Regions from separate parts of the Homo sapiens genome. Here region 2 is linked to region 1. Evidence: promoter capture Hi-C in 16 types of primary human blood cells and fetal thymus (Javierre and others, 2016). All regions are on one chromosome and are shown on one strand. Each heading gives the region's core, a stretch centred on a gene start or on the middle of the fragment in contact. The rest is flanking DNA. Distances are from core to core; before and after follow the strand shown. Region 1 holds the start of CPB2 (carboxypeptidase B2). Region 2 overlaps SIAH3 (siah E3 ubiquitin protein ligase family member 3).

Evidence for each region. Contacts are between HindIII fragments. The CHiCAGO score rates a contact against its expected background, and 5 or more counts as called.
Region 2: a contact is called between a fragment that was not itself captured here and the fragment with the promoter of CPB2 in region 1, in 1 of 17 cell types (endothelial precursors). The highest score is 5.5, in endothelial precursors.

Annotation. Positions count from the first base shown.
Region 1 is chr13:46,102,408-46,109,947 of GRCh38, reverse strand. CPB2 (carboxypeptidase B2) reads left to right here and starts at 4,915. Exons shown (of 11, transcript NM_001872.5): 1 at 4,915-5,012. The coding sequence starts at 4,939. The HindIII fragment of the contact is 3,608 bases long and covers 1,339-4,946 here.
Region 2 is chr13:45,818,598-45,826,026 of GRCh38, reverse strand. All of the region lies in intron 1 of SIAH3 (siah E3 ubiquitin protein ligase family member 3), which reads left to right. Among named protein-coding and RNA genes, the nearest start is that of SIAH3, 29 kb to the left of the region's middle. The HindIII fragment of the contact is 3,095 bases long and covers 1-3,012 here.

The DNA.
Region 1 (7,540 bases), core at 3,666-6,165:
CAGGCTTTCAGTGGATTAGATGAAGTCTACCTTCTTTGGGCCTGTTTTATAATCAACTGATTCAAATGCTAATATCATCTAGAAACACTCTCACAGACACATTCAGAAATAATGCTTAACCAATATCTGGGCATCCCATGGCCCAGTCAAATTGATGCATACAATTAACCATCACAAATCTCAAAGGACTCTGAGCCCCAGGCTGAGAACAAGACAGTGGTCATCTGTACTGGGGAAGAGTCAAGAGATCAGAGAGAGATGAACTCTTTGAAGCTCAGAGCCTGCTGACCCTCTTTGAAGCTCAGAGCCTGCTGACGTTTGAGGTCAGGGCAGGAAAACAGAGAGAAAACCCACAATGAACCCAGCCTTACGCTGAACAGGAGACAGTAGCTGCCTGTGGCTACTGGTAGGGAAGAGGAGAGCAGGAGAGCTGAGACCCCTCCTATGGCGCAGGAGCACTGGGCCTGACGATGGGTGCAGGCAGGGCAGGAGAACTAAGACAAACCCTCCAGGCACTCAGATATCAATCCTGGCTAGAGGAAATAATTTGATCTTGCTATAATAATATAACAAATAAAATTTAACAAAAATAACAGCAAAGCCTAGACCCAGCTCAACTGCAGCCTAGATTGGCTCAATCCTTCACACTGGTGGCATGAGAGAAGAAGATATGGGACCTATTCTGGGCTTATCTGCTAGTTACTTTAGTCTATCCTATCCTTTTGTACATAACATCTGTGATTCAATAAAAAATTACAAGTATATGAAAAAGCATAAAAAGTGACCCATCTTCAAAAGAGAAAATGGTCAAAAGAACCAGATGCAGAGATTGCTCAAAGACAATCTTTGTTCATACATGTATGAAAAAATGGGAAATGCAGCAGTGAAAAGTAAACTCTAAAAAAAAATTCAAATAGAAGTGTCAGAAATGAAAAATATATCAGAAATAAAGACTTCTTTCAATGGACTTATCAGCAAACTGGAACTGCTGGGAAAAGAATAAGTGAACTTGAAGCCAGATCAATAGAAAATATCCAAATTGAAGCATAAGGAGAAAAAAGAGATAAGAAATAAAACAGACACACTCTAGTTATTATTGTGGTGAGGAAAGAAATTACTGCAAACTTATGGATGTAGACTCATACGTACAGAGCCAATGGATTTTTCCCAAAGATGGCAAAGCAATCCCATGGGAGAAAGAAAAGTGTTTTCAGGAAATGATGCTAAAACAATTGAATACTTATATGGAAAATTAAAGAACATCAATCCCTCCCTCAAAACATACATAAAAATTAATTTGAGATGGATCATAAACCTAAAAGTCAAAACTATAAAGCTTCAAGAATATCTGCATGATCTTGAGTTAGACAAAGCTCCTTAGACAAGACCCAGAAGGCACTAACCACTAAAGAAAAATTGATAAATTGAACTCAGCAAAATTAAAAACTTTTGCTCTGCAAAAGACATCAATAAAAAATGGGAGAGCCACAAAGTGTCAGAAAATATTGACAATGTATATGTCTGACAAAGGAGTTGTATCCTGAATATATAAATAACTCTCACAAGTTAATAATAAAACGACAACTAAATTTTCCAAAATGGTCAAAAGAATTTGATAGACATTTCTCAAAGGAAGATATATTTACAATACATATATCTGACAAAGGACTGATGTCTAGAAAATGTGAATAACTCCTACAAATCAGTAATAAGACAAACTATCCCAACTAACAACCAGGCAAATGATCTGAACAAACACTTCTATATATATATATATATATATATATATAAAATCTAACTGTACACTTACGATCTGTGCATTTCACTGCATGTACCTTAATACAAAGGAAAAAAATGCTGCTCACTTTTACCTAGGACTGGTTTATAAGTAGCTGCTAGTCAGTATGAGACAGAATAACTACACCAGGAGTAACTAAGCCAATAATTAAGTCAAGTCATTACTGTTTGCTGACTGGATCTTTGAAATGTGCTCCAAAAACCAGTGTAAGACAGGGCTCTGGAATGGAAGCGCAGGGACTTCTTGGAGGCATGTGCCAAGCAGAGAGAAGTGAGCATAGGGGAAGAGAGAAAGAAATGAAAGACTTCCTACTTGAAGGAAGACTTCCTACTCAAAATGAGCCTGCAGACCAGAGTTCCAAATCACAGAAGAATTCAAATACCAATAAAGGCAGCTAACAAAATCAATACTCAGAACATGAATTCACCCAAACATAATTAACCTCATAAAGCAGTGCAACACTGACTTTAAAATAAGTATCCTGAGGATTCTCAATGAGAGATCTAAAGGAATCATATCGACTAAAAAATTGAAAAAAATCTTAAATGATATTTTAAAATACTGGTATAAAAACAAAATCAGTAAACACGCAAAAGAACCAGCTGTAAATGATTTATATAGTCATCGAGGTAATTATTTAAAACACCTCAACTGGACTATGTAGTCTAAATTAGACTCAAAGAATAAATTAGTGGATTTGAAGATAGTGCTGAGAAACTCACCCAGAATACAGCATACAGAGACAAAGATGATGAGTTTTTAAAACATGAAAGGACAGTTACAAGACATGAAAGATAGATCAAGAAGCTCCAACAGGAGCCCCTACAGGGCACTAGCAGAGATACGATAGCTGAAGAAATAATAAAATGATTTTCCAAGACTGAAGAAATGTCTAAATCCTCAGATCAAAAGTACATCCTGTGTATTGAGTAAGATAATAAAAACTAAATCCACATCTAGACCAGAGTAATGGATCTGAGAAGCACCAAGGATAAAGATAATCCCTTAAAAGTTATCAAGGAGAAAGGACAGCTAAACTGCAAGGGAACAACAATTACCTGGGCAGCAGATTCCTACCATGCAACAGGAAATGTCAAACAACAATGACGCATCCGTCACACTCGAATATTACATTCAGCTAAACTAGTACTTGAAAGTGAAGGCAAAAGAAAGTTATTGTTAAAGATACAGAGCATAAAAGATTTTATCACCTGTAGACTTTTGCTATAGGAACTTTTAAAAGATTGCTTCAGCAATAAGAAATGTAATTTAAAATTTATTGTTTTTTATGCACTCTGTTTCTTTTGTATCCTGTTTCTGTTTCCCCAGAGAGGAAACAGGACATAAAATAAAGAAGAAACACAGATACAAAATAAGTAGCACAAAAATTGATAGAATTTATTAGCATATTTTAACTATTTTGACTGTTTGTTTTAAAGTTAACTTTTATGTTAAAAAGATAAGGTAAAAGTTACTTGGGTTAGTTTTTCTTTCTCTCCTTCAGTGTGATTATGTTATTCATTTGAAACACAGGTTCGTTTTTGTTTGTATTATTTTTTAAAATTTATTTGTTTGCTTGTTTTAAGTACATATGTGAAAAGAACATGGTTCTAAAATTCAGAGTAGTTCTAAAGTTCAGAACTATTCAAAACACTTCACCCAAAGAAGCGTCCCTCCCTGTCTCTTCTACCCTGTCTTTTCCAGTGTGTTTCCACTCACCTCCCGTGGATAACCAGTCTCATTGATTTCTAATCTATCCTTCTTATGTTTCTTTCTCCACATATGAGCAGACACACACATATTTTCTTATTTCTTCTTCTTTCTTATACAACAAGTGGTTACAGTGGAGGTCACTTTAATTCATTAAATATCATTCAATAGTTTTAAATCTCAAAAGGAAAAGTTTGAAATCTCAATCATTTTCTTCTGGCCAGGCACGATGGCTCACGCCTGTATTCCCAGCACTTTGGAAGGCAGAGGCAGGTGGATCTCCTGAGCTCAGGAGTTTGAGACCATCCAGTGCAACATGGTGCAACCCTGTCTCTACTAAAAATACAAAAAAAATTAACTGGGTGTGGTGGGGCACACCTCTAGTCCCAGCTACTTGGGAGGCTGAGGCAGGAGAATTGCTTGAGCCCCAGAGGTGAAGGTTGCAGTGAGCCAAGATCACGCCTCTGCACTCCAGCTTGGGCTACAGAGTGAGACTCTGTCTCAAAAAAAAAAAAAAAAAAAGAAAAGAAAAAAGAAAAAAAATCATTTTCTTCTCAGAAGTTAATTGTGGGCAGGCTGATTTATTTTGCAAATTTGCCAATTCTGACTTCAAGAACATTCAAGTGCATTAACCAATGGGAATGTAGGGGAAGAGGGCTCCACTCACTTACAGAGGGTAGGATATGGCCTCATACTAGACAAAATGTTATTTGATGCTACTTTCAAGATGATAGGGGATGGGCCTGGATTTAATTGATGGCTATTATGGTGACCTTTAAATAAATGAGATTCAAAGTAACCTGATGTCTTTACTGCTTGAACCAGCTTCCATGAAATAGTATTCCTATTGGGGGTGGGCCTATCATTCCATATGGTCAAGGAAACATCTTTTTGAACAGAGATCCTGTAATCATCCTTACAAACTGCACTTCAACATTGGATTGGATTAGCCAGATTTGAGGAACTCACTTTTTACATCTTCATAAATTTAAAATGTTGAAAAAGTCAGAGGCAAGGGAAGACATTTATAGTACTTCACGGTAGATCTCCCTCAACATGGGCTATATATCCATTAGTCAATATTCTATAGCTATTGTTCTGCAATAAACCAGACAAGATCCTACTGTATTACTACCCTTTTATTCTTGGCCCTACCTTCCCCAAGGAGTTACACATTTTCTAGATAGTCTAAATTAAGAGCAACTCTCATCATACTCTTTTTGAGTGTTTAATTATCAAGCAACAGCCTAACTAAGCCAATAATATTTCTCTTTTTGGGAGTGGAAATGGAAGCTAAGTTGATTGACCCACAGGAACAAGAGGGAACATGCCGTTATATTTTAACCAGTGTGTAAAGAAGGCTGTTATGCAATCAATGATCTGGGTTTTTCTCTTCAGAGAAATTTGTTGTACAGAAAATTGCTGTTGGGATGAAGCTTTGCAGCCTTGCAGTCCTTGTACCCATTGTTCTCTTCTGTGAGCAGCATGTCTTCGCGTTTCAGAGGTAACCCAATAGAATCTTAGACTGTGGTGGGCCACTCTCCTCACTTGTTTGCCTCATGTCGTGTCAAGTCAGTGCACTGAGCTGGTGGACAAAATGGTAAACTTTGAAGGCCAGGTCTTTCAGAACTTTCCAAGTTGCCCTGACAAATAAGTAGACTTTAGCACAATGGGCTATCACTAAAGACAGGGTCTTTTTTCTTTCCTGGCTCTGGTTTTATTATTGGGAGAACCTTGGATGATACGCATATCCAGTGACTATGGAGATTCAAGAAATTAAATCTTTTATAAACGTAACTATTTATACTCTAACTTGATGTATGATTCATATTCTTCCTGTCTTCACATAAAAAAAGTTAACTATGGATCATTTATTTTCCCCTTGTACATGGAACATAGGAGGAAGAAGAGGGTGAAGTGTTAAATAGGAGGTTTGGATCATGCATGATTATTTAGCATGGAATATGAAAGGAAGAAGAGTTGTGTGATAAAGAACTATTATCTGATTCTTATTTTGCTTAGTAGATTCCCTTAGGATAAACTATCTAGAAGAACACAAATGAATTCATGCTATAGCACATGCAATGCATGGAGAAAATAGTTCCAGGGTATATGTAATGTAATTTATTAAGTAGTCAATTTTTAGGCTTTAAAACATTGATATTGTTTCCTTTGGAATTATCTTATTTTTTCCCCTTTGTTTTGGTTCTATGATCGCTTTCTCCTCCAATTATCTTTGAGACAGATCCCTCTCCTCATGTTAGTAAATGACAAAGAAAGAAGAGACATAGGGCAAAGGAATATACCAGTGACAAGGAACATTCTACCACCAAAAAAATGTTCACGGTCATAAATAACCATAGGACAATGGTTTGGAAAATAGATCTTGACTTGTGAGCCTGAAGCTGTGTTTGTACATGATCACTGAACTGATTATAGTTGATTGATCTTCTTTTGTTCAACATGATTGTCGAATGTCGAGCAACAAATTCTATCATAAAATGATATTATTTTTGTTATTTAATTGACGTGGGGGTCAAGATTGCTGCAATGATCAGTGACTTATGTCTTTCTCTGTATTTTATCGGTGAATCATATGGTCAGGATTTCTAAGGTTCTTGCTAGTTCTAATATTCCATAACTTGATAATTGGCTTCAGTTAAGGGAAAGGGGGAGAAGAGAAAAATTGGTATCAACATGTCCAACTTGGCTACTGTACACAGTGGCAGTACCATTGACAGTTAGGGGAAAGGGAGGAAACCTCTGCTTATTTAGTGCCTGTGTTTGTGCCAGGCACTGAACTAGTCACTTAGAAATGTTATCTCTTTAAATGCATAAAATCCTACATGCTAGGAATCTTTACTGACATTTTACAAAGGAGGAAACTGAGCCTCAGGAAGAATAAATAATTGGCCCAAGATCAAACAGTAAATGTAGAGCTTGGATTCAAACCCACTTTAGCCTCATTTCAACTCCATGCACTGGACAGCATTGCCTCCATAAAATCTGGAAATTAGGAAGAGAGCCAGTTTGAAGGAAGGTCAGATTTAGTCAAAGGGAGTTGCAGGCAGCAGTTGGTTTGGAAAGTAGCTTGGAAGAGAGGTTCGGGATTAGAGGTTCAGTCTCATGGTTCTCACCCACTAGCAGATCTAATCATGGCCTTGGCGTCAGCCCAGTGCAATTATCCTCAGCTGGTTGTTGCAGAGGTTGGCGGGCAGGTGGGCTCACTGCAGACCGCCATCTTGATCGTAGAGTAACCCAAACTCTTGGATAGGATAATCAATAGCAAAACACACTAAAAGCTTTAGCACATCTCTTCAAATGAGTACGTGTATAGCAGCTTAGTGACACTAAATATAACGCAAATAGAAGAAGTAGCCAACAATAAAATAGTAAAAAAATGAGTGAGAACATATCTTCATGCATGGGCTTTGTTACTATTTGTTGCTTCAGCTTATACTCTGAAATCTGACTGATACTTATGCTTGAAAAAAGGAATGAGAATGTGACTATATTTTAACCAAAGAATATCACATTAAAAATATTTAATACTTTTGCATACTGCGAGGGTCCCTTTGCAGAGGAGAGGAGGTAGGAGGACCTCAGTATTGTAGACAGATGAATATCTGAATCCTGGTTCCCATCCCTTCACTGGAAATAACATTGCAAACTACTCTTTCTGTGAGTAAAAATAAATTTTTTTACCAAATGTTTCTGTGCTCCACTTTTCCAGGAATGGCCTATTCCTGAAGCTAAAAAGGAAATCTAATTTCATTCAGGGCAACAGACTTTGATAAATTGTTGCTGGGGTTCAGAATATCAACCCTTCTAAAAAAAAAAAAAAAAACTAACAGTCTGGCTTTTTCTTAAAGCTGTTCTTTGTTTTTTTTTTTTTTTTTGTCATAATCATTTTCCTACTAACAGTTTTTATTCATGCAGTCTCTTAGTGGCTGATTTGTAGGTTCATTTTGATAAATTTCATCAGTGAAATGCCCTGGAACAACAACAAGTTTTAAAGGCATAAATATCATA
Region 2 (7,429 bases), core at 216-2,715, 280 kb after region 1:
GCCTTCCAGACAGAGGCTAAGGAGAAACCAGGAAACAAAGACACAGGGCTGGGGTGTTGAGGGCCAGGGGGAGGAAGGCAGAGATCTTTGAATGCTGAGAGACTTGGGTTTTGGTCTTCATGGTCAGGGGAGGGAGCCTTTGGAGGAAAGCTGTAACTCAGAGAACAAGGCCTAGGAAGCGAGGGAGCTGGGGTAGGGCTGTCCTACAAAACGGAGAAATGTCACAGGCACAGAGGATGTAGCCAGAACAGGTATGATATGAGGGCCCAGTGTGCACTGATGCTGTTGAATGAACGAACAGATGAGGAAGCTGCTCAGAGCTCAGGAAAGCAGCAACAGAAAGTACTGTCCCAAGTAACTTCTTGCTCACCAAGTTGTTTCCTAAGAGACTCAGCATTTCACATTTTCCCCTATGGTTACCTTCTGCAGAAAAGTGAGCTGGGAAAAGTGGATCCTCAGGAAGACTACTTCACGAAGGTGTGAAAAGGTCAGTTCAGATGTCACTCCCTCCAAGGTGACACTAAGCACACACCCCAGGCAGGGCTGGGGGCTGCGCTCCTGGCTTGGGGGAAATCCGTTTTCTGGGGAAGAGTGTGGTGTGAGGTCTTTTCTCCATCATCCACATTCCCATCTGTTAACGCAGTGCTCCCAGAGTCGAGATAATGATTTAAAAGCTCTAATTTTGTTACATTCTGAATCCTGTCTGCCATCAAGGCTGATTGTAATGAGATTTGGCTAGGAGCTTGGCTCTTAGCTGGGGTCAATTTATCTTTGGGAGAAAGCGCTCCCATCAAAACGCCCAGGAATTATTAGCACTTAGAGGAAAGCTGAAGAGACCTATTAATGCGAGATGCCTAGGGAGTCCTGAAGTGTGAGGTGCAATTATATTTCTTATTTATTTCCCCCAGCTTCATGTTTAAGAGTGAAGAAAAGATGGGTAAGTAAGATCTCGTGGAAATCGATAAATATGTATTAAGCACCCACGATACTGTCATGCTGCCGTACGTTTGCATACCGCTTTAGCACTCACAGCAGTGGACACATTAGCACACGCCTTGGTTCTCTGTCACTTCTCAGCACAGCCCTGCAGAGTAGAGGATGGCTTCTTTTTTTGGTTTTTTGGTTTTTGTTTTTTTTGTTTTTTTTTTTGAGACAGAGTCTCGCTCTGTCGCCCAGGCTGGAGTGCAGTGGCGCAATCTCGTGGTTTTTGTTTTTTAATAAATGAGGAATAAGGCTCAGAGCAAATAAGTCCCCTTCTCTGATAAGTGATAGAGATTTAAACCTGGATTTTTCCAACTCCGATGCGCTGCTTTAACAAATTATACCACAAAACATTGTTTGTGTGCCAGGCTCTATGTGTCTGGAGGTCCAAAGACATTTAGCACTGGTCTCTTTCCCCACAGTGGTTTTCAACTCCACCTGCATGTTGGAATCATCTAGGGAGCTTGAAACCAAGGGGAAGGGCTGAAACCTGGGTCTCAACCCCAGATACTCTGCCTTAATTAGATGAGGTTAGGCCCAGAGCCTTCCAGCTTACAAAGAAGGAAGAAAATGGCCAGTGACAGGTGAGGGGTATGGAGGCTACCCCAGACCACTTTGAATATTCTGTTATTGCTTTTGTTAATAGCAGAGCTTTATCGACAGCAGCAAGGGGGGCAGGTCCTGTGCCTGCTGTGGGCCTGACTACATTCAATCTAACTTACAACCCTTTGAGGCAGCTAACATTACTGACACTCTTAGAGAATTCGATGTGGCGTTGTGGGACAAATAAAGGGTTTGGCACTAAAAGGAATTGACTTCAAAACCAAGTTCTGCCAGTTTTTACTTGTATAATTTTTTAACTGAAGTTCACTTAAACCTAAGTCAGATTTGCCTAGTATGTAAAACGGGTTGTAAAAATTGCCCTAATTATAGAGTGGTGAAGATTAAACAGATGAGAATGGATCTTTGACCTTTGTAAGGCCTAAAATGTAGACTATTTGGTACTATGTTCACTGTTTGGGTGATGGGTTTACTAGAAACCCAAACCTCAACATCACTCAATATACCCATGTAACAAGCCTGCACATGTACCCTTGAATCTAAAATAATATTTTTTTAAAAATACAGTCCCAATGTTACTACAGAGGAGAGAGCTGAGGCTCAGAGCCAGTAAGTAATTTGCCCAAGGTCACACCAGGTCACAGCCCAGATCTTTGACAAACACTGTCAGCACCACTCCCTATACTGTCAGGCCTGTAGGACTAAACCACCAGATTAACACTTGCACAGTGCCTGCTGGCCCTGAAGGCCTTTGCATCTTTTGACCTTGTCTTAAAGGTAGGGTAGGATAGTGCTGAGTGATGAGAAGCAGGACAGGCTTCATGGTGTCTTTGGATAGCAGTTTTGAGACCAAAATCTTTCAAGTGCTTGGAGAATCACAGAATAGATGGAGTTCTCTAGGGCTGAGAGTTTACATTCAGGTAACTGGAGAGTTTTAAAGCTGAAAGGCATATCAACGGTAGATTTCACAAAGGAAAAGAAAATTGGAAAAACTCCAGAAGTAGACTGAGATTTAAGGTTTTTAAAGTAATGCTATAAAAAGACCTGCCTGGGAAAATAGGGCAGACTTGCCTTGCCTATAGTGGTTCTGAGGATCAGCTGAAATAGTGTACACGTGCTTTAAAAATTCGGAAGCAGCAGTTTTCAGCTCTGGCCACGTATTAGAATTGCCTGGGGAGCTTTTACAGAACTCCAGCTGTAGGTGCCCACCCCAGACCGATTAAGTCAGCACTCTAGGGTTGGGCCAGGCAGTGGTCTTCGTTAAACGCTCCCCAGGCAGTTAGATTGTGCCTTTACAGTTAAGAAATCACCACTCTAAAGCGTCATGAGAATACGAGTTGTAATTCTTTTATTATTCAAGTAGACCCAGGACTATTATGGAATAGGATGCCCACCTTCTACTGAGGTTCAAATAAGAGCTAACAGCTTTAATCTGGAGCAGAGGGGACGGGTTAGATCTAAGGAGAAGCTTTCTGTCTGGAGAGGGAGGGATTCAAAGAGCTCCTAAAGTGCTCGCCCCTCTCCAGGGTGCAAGGACCTTGGGACGACTTTGTGGCCTTTGTTCTTCATTTCCTCATTAAGAAAGAAAATAAAAACAGCCTCACAGAGATAACTTTCCAGGCTGGGGAGGAGGCCATGGGGCAGGCCGTGAAGTGCAAGAACACGGCACTTTAAAACCAGCTCCGTTTCAGGACAATGATGAGTTTCTGTCTTCCAGGCCTGCGGCACACCCAGCTCCCAAACAGCAAACATTTGTCATCCAGGCTGAGGATTTCAAGTCCTTTACAAGTAACATTTTTCTGATGATATAAAAAATAAGTTCATTTTCAAAATTAGGAAATCAAAAATATAAGAAAATAAAATCACCTATAATCCTACTGCCCAGAGGCAATCATTATTAATACCATTTTTGCCTGTTCCCTAGTCTAATATATATATATATATATATATATATATATATATATTTGATAATGAAAATGTTAGCTCACTTCTTCACAGCATTGATCACTCAAGTTAGTAAATTTGTAACTGAAGCTTAGATCAGAAAGACTCAAATCCAAATGCAGTTTAATGATCTTAAAAGTCCTTTTGGCTCAGTCTGTTTTCAAATGGTCCAATATACTGTCTTACTATACTTGGAAAAAATAATGAATGATTGCTAAGAAAATATGTTCACCTCTAGGAAAATTATATTGGAGCTGAAGAACAAGTTCCCAGATCACATTCTAGAAAGACAGCAATTTTTCTGTTCTCTGTTCCTGAATCATGGCAGTGGGACACCATATAGGTCCGCATTGAGACCCCAGTGTCTTCAGAAAAGCTCCCTGTTGCACCAGCTGTCTCAGGGATGATGCTGGGGAGCTTGGACTGGGAGCGCCAAGGAGCCAGATTTCTCTGAGACACTCTGGGTCCACGTGTCACTTGCAGCAGGGGACACATGTCACAAGAGCAAAGGGGTATAGTCCTGCCGGGGACCCACAGGTGTGAAGCATTCCCTACAACGGCCACTGATAACCCTCATAAATCACTCCTGGCTGGTACTCAGGCCCCTACCCCTGCTCTGTGGAGGGTGGTGCTGAAAGATAAGAAGCAGAAATCAACTGGGCACATGAAAAAGAACCTCCAGATATTTCACAGTGAACATTTGTTCTTGTTCTCTCTTCCTACCCAACGTGCTGAGCAACAAACTGTCTCTTGACTGCCTTTTGGCCCCACTCTCATTGATTTTCAACCCAAGAATTGAGCGCAGCTATTTCCTAGGGGCCATGTCTAGGTAATGATATAATTAAGAGGGCCACAGAGTCATTTGCATAACACTTGCTCATAATTAGCATCTTTGCTATAGTTAATTAGGACAATGGTTAAAAATCTCTACGGTGATTTTCCACCTTGAAGTCTAATTATTTTTATGACACCAAATTTTTTTGATGGCATACTATGTGTCAGGCACTCTACTGGGCCATGGGGCAGTAGGTTCAGGCCTTTAAGAACCAATGGCTTTGCTGGGGAGACAAGAAATCAAATTCATGTGACAGTGTGATTGGGCTACTAGTACCTGTATTTGAATCCTAGAGCTGCCACAACAAAGTACCATGAATTAGGTGGCTTGAATAACAGGAATTGATTGTCTCACAGTCCAGGTGTTGGCAGGGCTTGTTCCTTCTAGGCTGTGAGGGATAATTTGTCCCAGGCCTTTCTCCTGCCTAATGGCAGCCTCGGGCATTCCATGGCTTGTAGATGGCATTCTCCCTGTGTCCTCACATCATCTTTTCTATGTGTCTATGTCTGTTTCTGCCTCCAAATTCCACTTTTTACAAAGACACCAGTCATATTAGATTAGGGCCCACCTTAATGACCTCACCTTAATTCAATCAACTTTAAAGACCCTATCTTCAAATAAGGTCACGTCTGCAGGTTCACAGGTACTGGGGTTTAGAGCCTGAACATCTTTTTGGGAGACTATTCAACCCATAATGGTACTCATATATATGCAGAAGGGACAGAGGGGAACACAGAGAAGGAAACAACAGACCTTGGTAGGAGACAGTCTGGGGAGGACGGAGGTGGGGAAATTCCTGGAAGAGAGTATGTTACGTGCAGAGGGCCAGAGGGCAGGCATCAGCCTCCTAGAAACTGGAAAGTCAGTAACGCAGCAGGAAGCAAGTGCCAGGAGCTGCCTGGTTCCCTGGTAAGGCCAGTAAGTTCTGAGGGCCCCAGAACCTGGGAGAGGAGGGGAAAGAGAAGCCCCAGGTAACCCAGAAACTGCAGAAGCAGCCAGGCAGAGTCTGTTTGCTCCGGGAGGGGATTTCGGAGGCTGGTGGAAAAGGAGGGCCGCGGTGGTGGGAGGAGGGCTGGAGGGAATGCTGCTGTTCAATAGTCCTCCGAAATTGCCTGGCTCTACCACCCACACCGTACCATATGTCTGCACACTTCAGAGTTAGAAATCAAATGAACAAACTCTTAAACAAAATATGTTCTCTCCTTCTACCTTTACAAACATAGGCCTTAAACAGTCGGGAAGACCAGGTTCCAGTCACAATCCCTAGATTACAAGGAGCTCCTCACCAGAATGCAGTAGTGTGAGGAGACGCAGCCCCTGGCCCGCAGCCCAGACCCTTCTCGTCCCATCTCTGGCTCCGTCCCCACCACAGGAGGTTCACCTGCATGGTAGCCTGGCTCACTCGTCAAAGCTTCATTTATCTCCCGGCCAACGGAGCTTCTTGACCACCTCTTGGCTTAGGGGTTCGCTCGTGGTGCTGTGAACCATCTGGGGAGGTGCTGTGGTTTGAATGTGTCCCCTCCTAAATTCAGGGTTGAAACTTAGTGGCCAATGTGATGGTATTAAGAGGTGGGGCCTTTAAGAGACACATAAGTCGTGCGGATTCCTCCCTCCTGAATGGGATTAAGGCCCTTATAAAGGAGGCTTCACACAGCATTCGGCTCTCTTGCCCTTCTTCCTCCTGCTATGTGAGGACACGGCGTTCCTTTCCTCAGAGGATGCAGCAGCGAGGCACCATCTCCGAGGCAGACTGCAGCCCTCACCACACGACTGAACCCGCTGACTTCCCAGCCTCCAGAACTGTGAGGAACCCCTTTCTGTTCTTTATAAGTGACCCAGCCTCTGGCATTCTGTTATAGAAGCACAAATAGACCAAGAGAGGAGGGCAGAAGTCCTGCAGGCCCTGGAAGTGGGTTTGGGGCTTTGAGGGAAGAGACTAGGTCCCCGAAGTGATGTCTATCTAAGTCACAGCCCTGGAGACCCTGCCCCTGAGGTGGGCACAGCCAAGGCAGCCAGAGCCAGCCCTCCGACATGCAGGGCCCGTTTTACATATAAGCACAGAGCAATCAGAAGCTATTTCTAAAGCCACATTGTGTGGCCACCCAATAATTATGTTCCTCCTAAATACCAATTTCCACCACAACCTCCTTTTTCTAATTTTCCAAAGTCTGATTTCCTCTTTGCTGTTTTTTTCCCTAATTTGCAGTTATTGGTTTCTTGTAGAGGCCATAATGATCTGACTCTTCCTCAGCGACCACCACTCCTTCCTGTCCCGTCCACCCAGCCATGCCCAACACTGTGCAGCCCAAGGCCATGGCTGCCTCCTGGCTCTGTGAATGGGTGCACACTGTTCTTCCTTGCTTCCTTAAACGCTCCTCCCATCCTGTATCTGTTAGAAGTAAAGTCTAACCCAACAAAACAATCAAAAACAATGGCTCACGTAAAATTCATAGTGTTGCTATATTAAAGCAATCTGGAGGCAAGTAGTCCCTGATGATTTGGTGACAGCAGGGGGCCATCTGGGATCAGGCTCCTTTGACTTTCTACACTGGCCTCTCTTCCTTTCTCTGTGTCGTGCATGGTCAGAAGCTGGTCCTGGTGCTCTGAGCCATCACAAGCACACTGCAGCCAGAGCCCTTTTCGTGGCTCTGGGTCAGCATTTAGCCAGCACCCTGTAAAGGTGGGTTTCCTTGTCCATCTCTTCATTAGAATGTGAGCACCTAAGGGACAAGGACTGCCTTTTATTCATCTCCATACCCCTAACACCCTAGCACATGAAAAGGATTAAGAGTAAAATTGCTTTGCATGAATGACTGTCTTATCATGGTAAACTGATGATGGCCCCCACCGCTGTCCACCTCCTAATCCCAGGAACTTGTGAATGTGACCTTGTGTGGCAAAGTGTTTGTAGATATGACTAAGTTAACCATTTAGATATGGTGAGAATATCTTGGATTATCTGGGTGGGCCCTAAATGCCATCACAATCGCTCTTACAAGAGGGAGATCTGACAAAGGCACACAGAAGAGAAGGTGATGTGAAGACAGAACAGAGAAAGATTTGAAGATGCTGGCCTTGAAATTGCAGTGATGCAGCCACAAGCCAAGG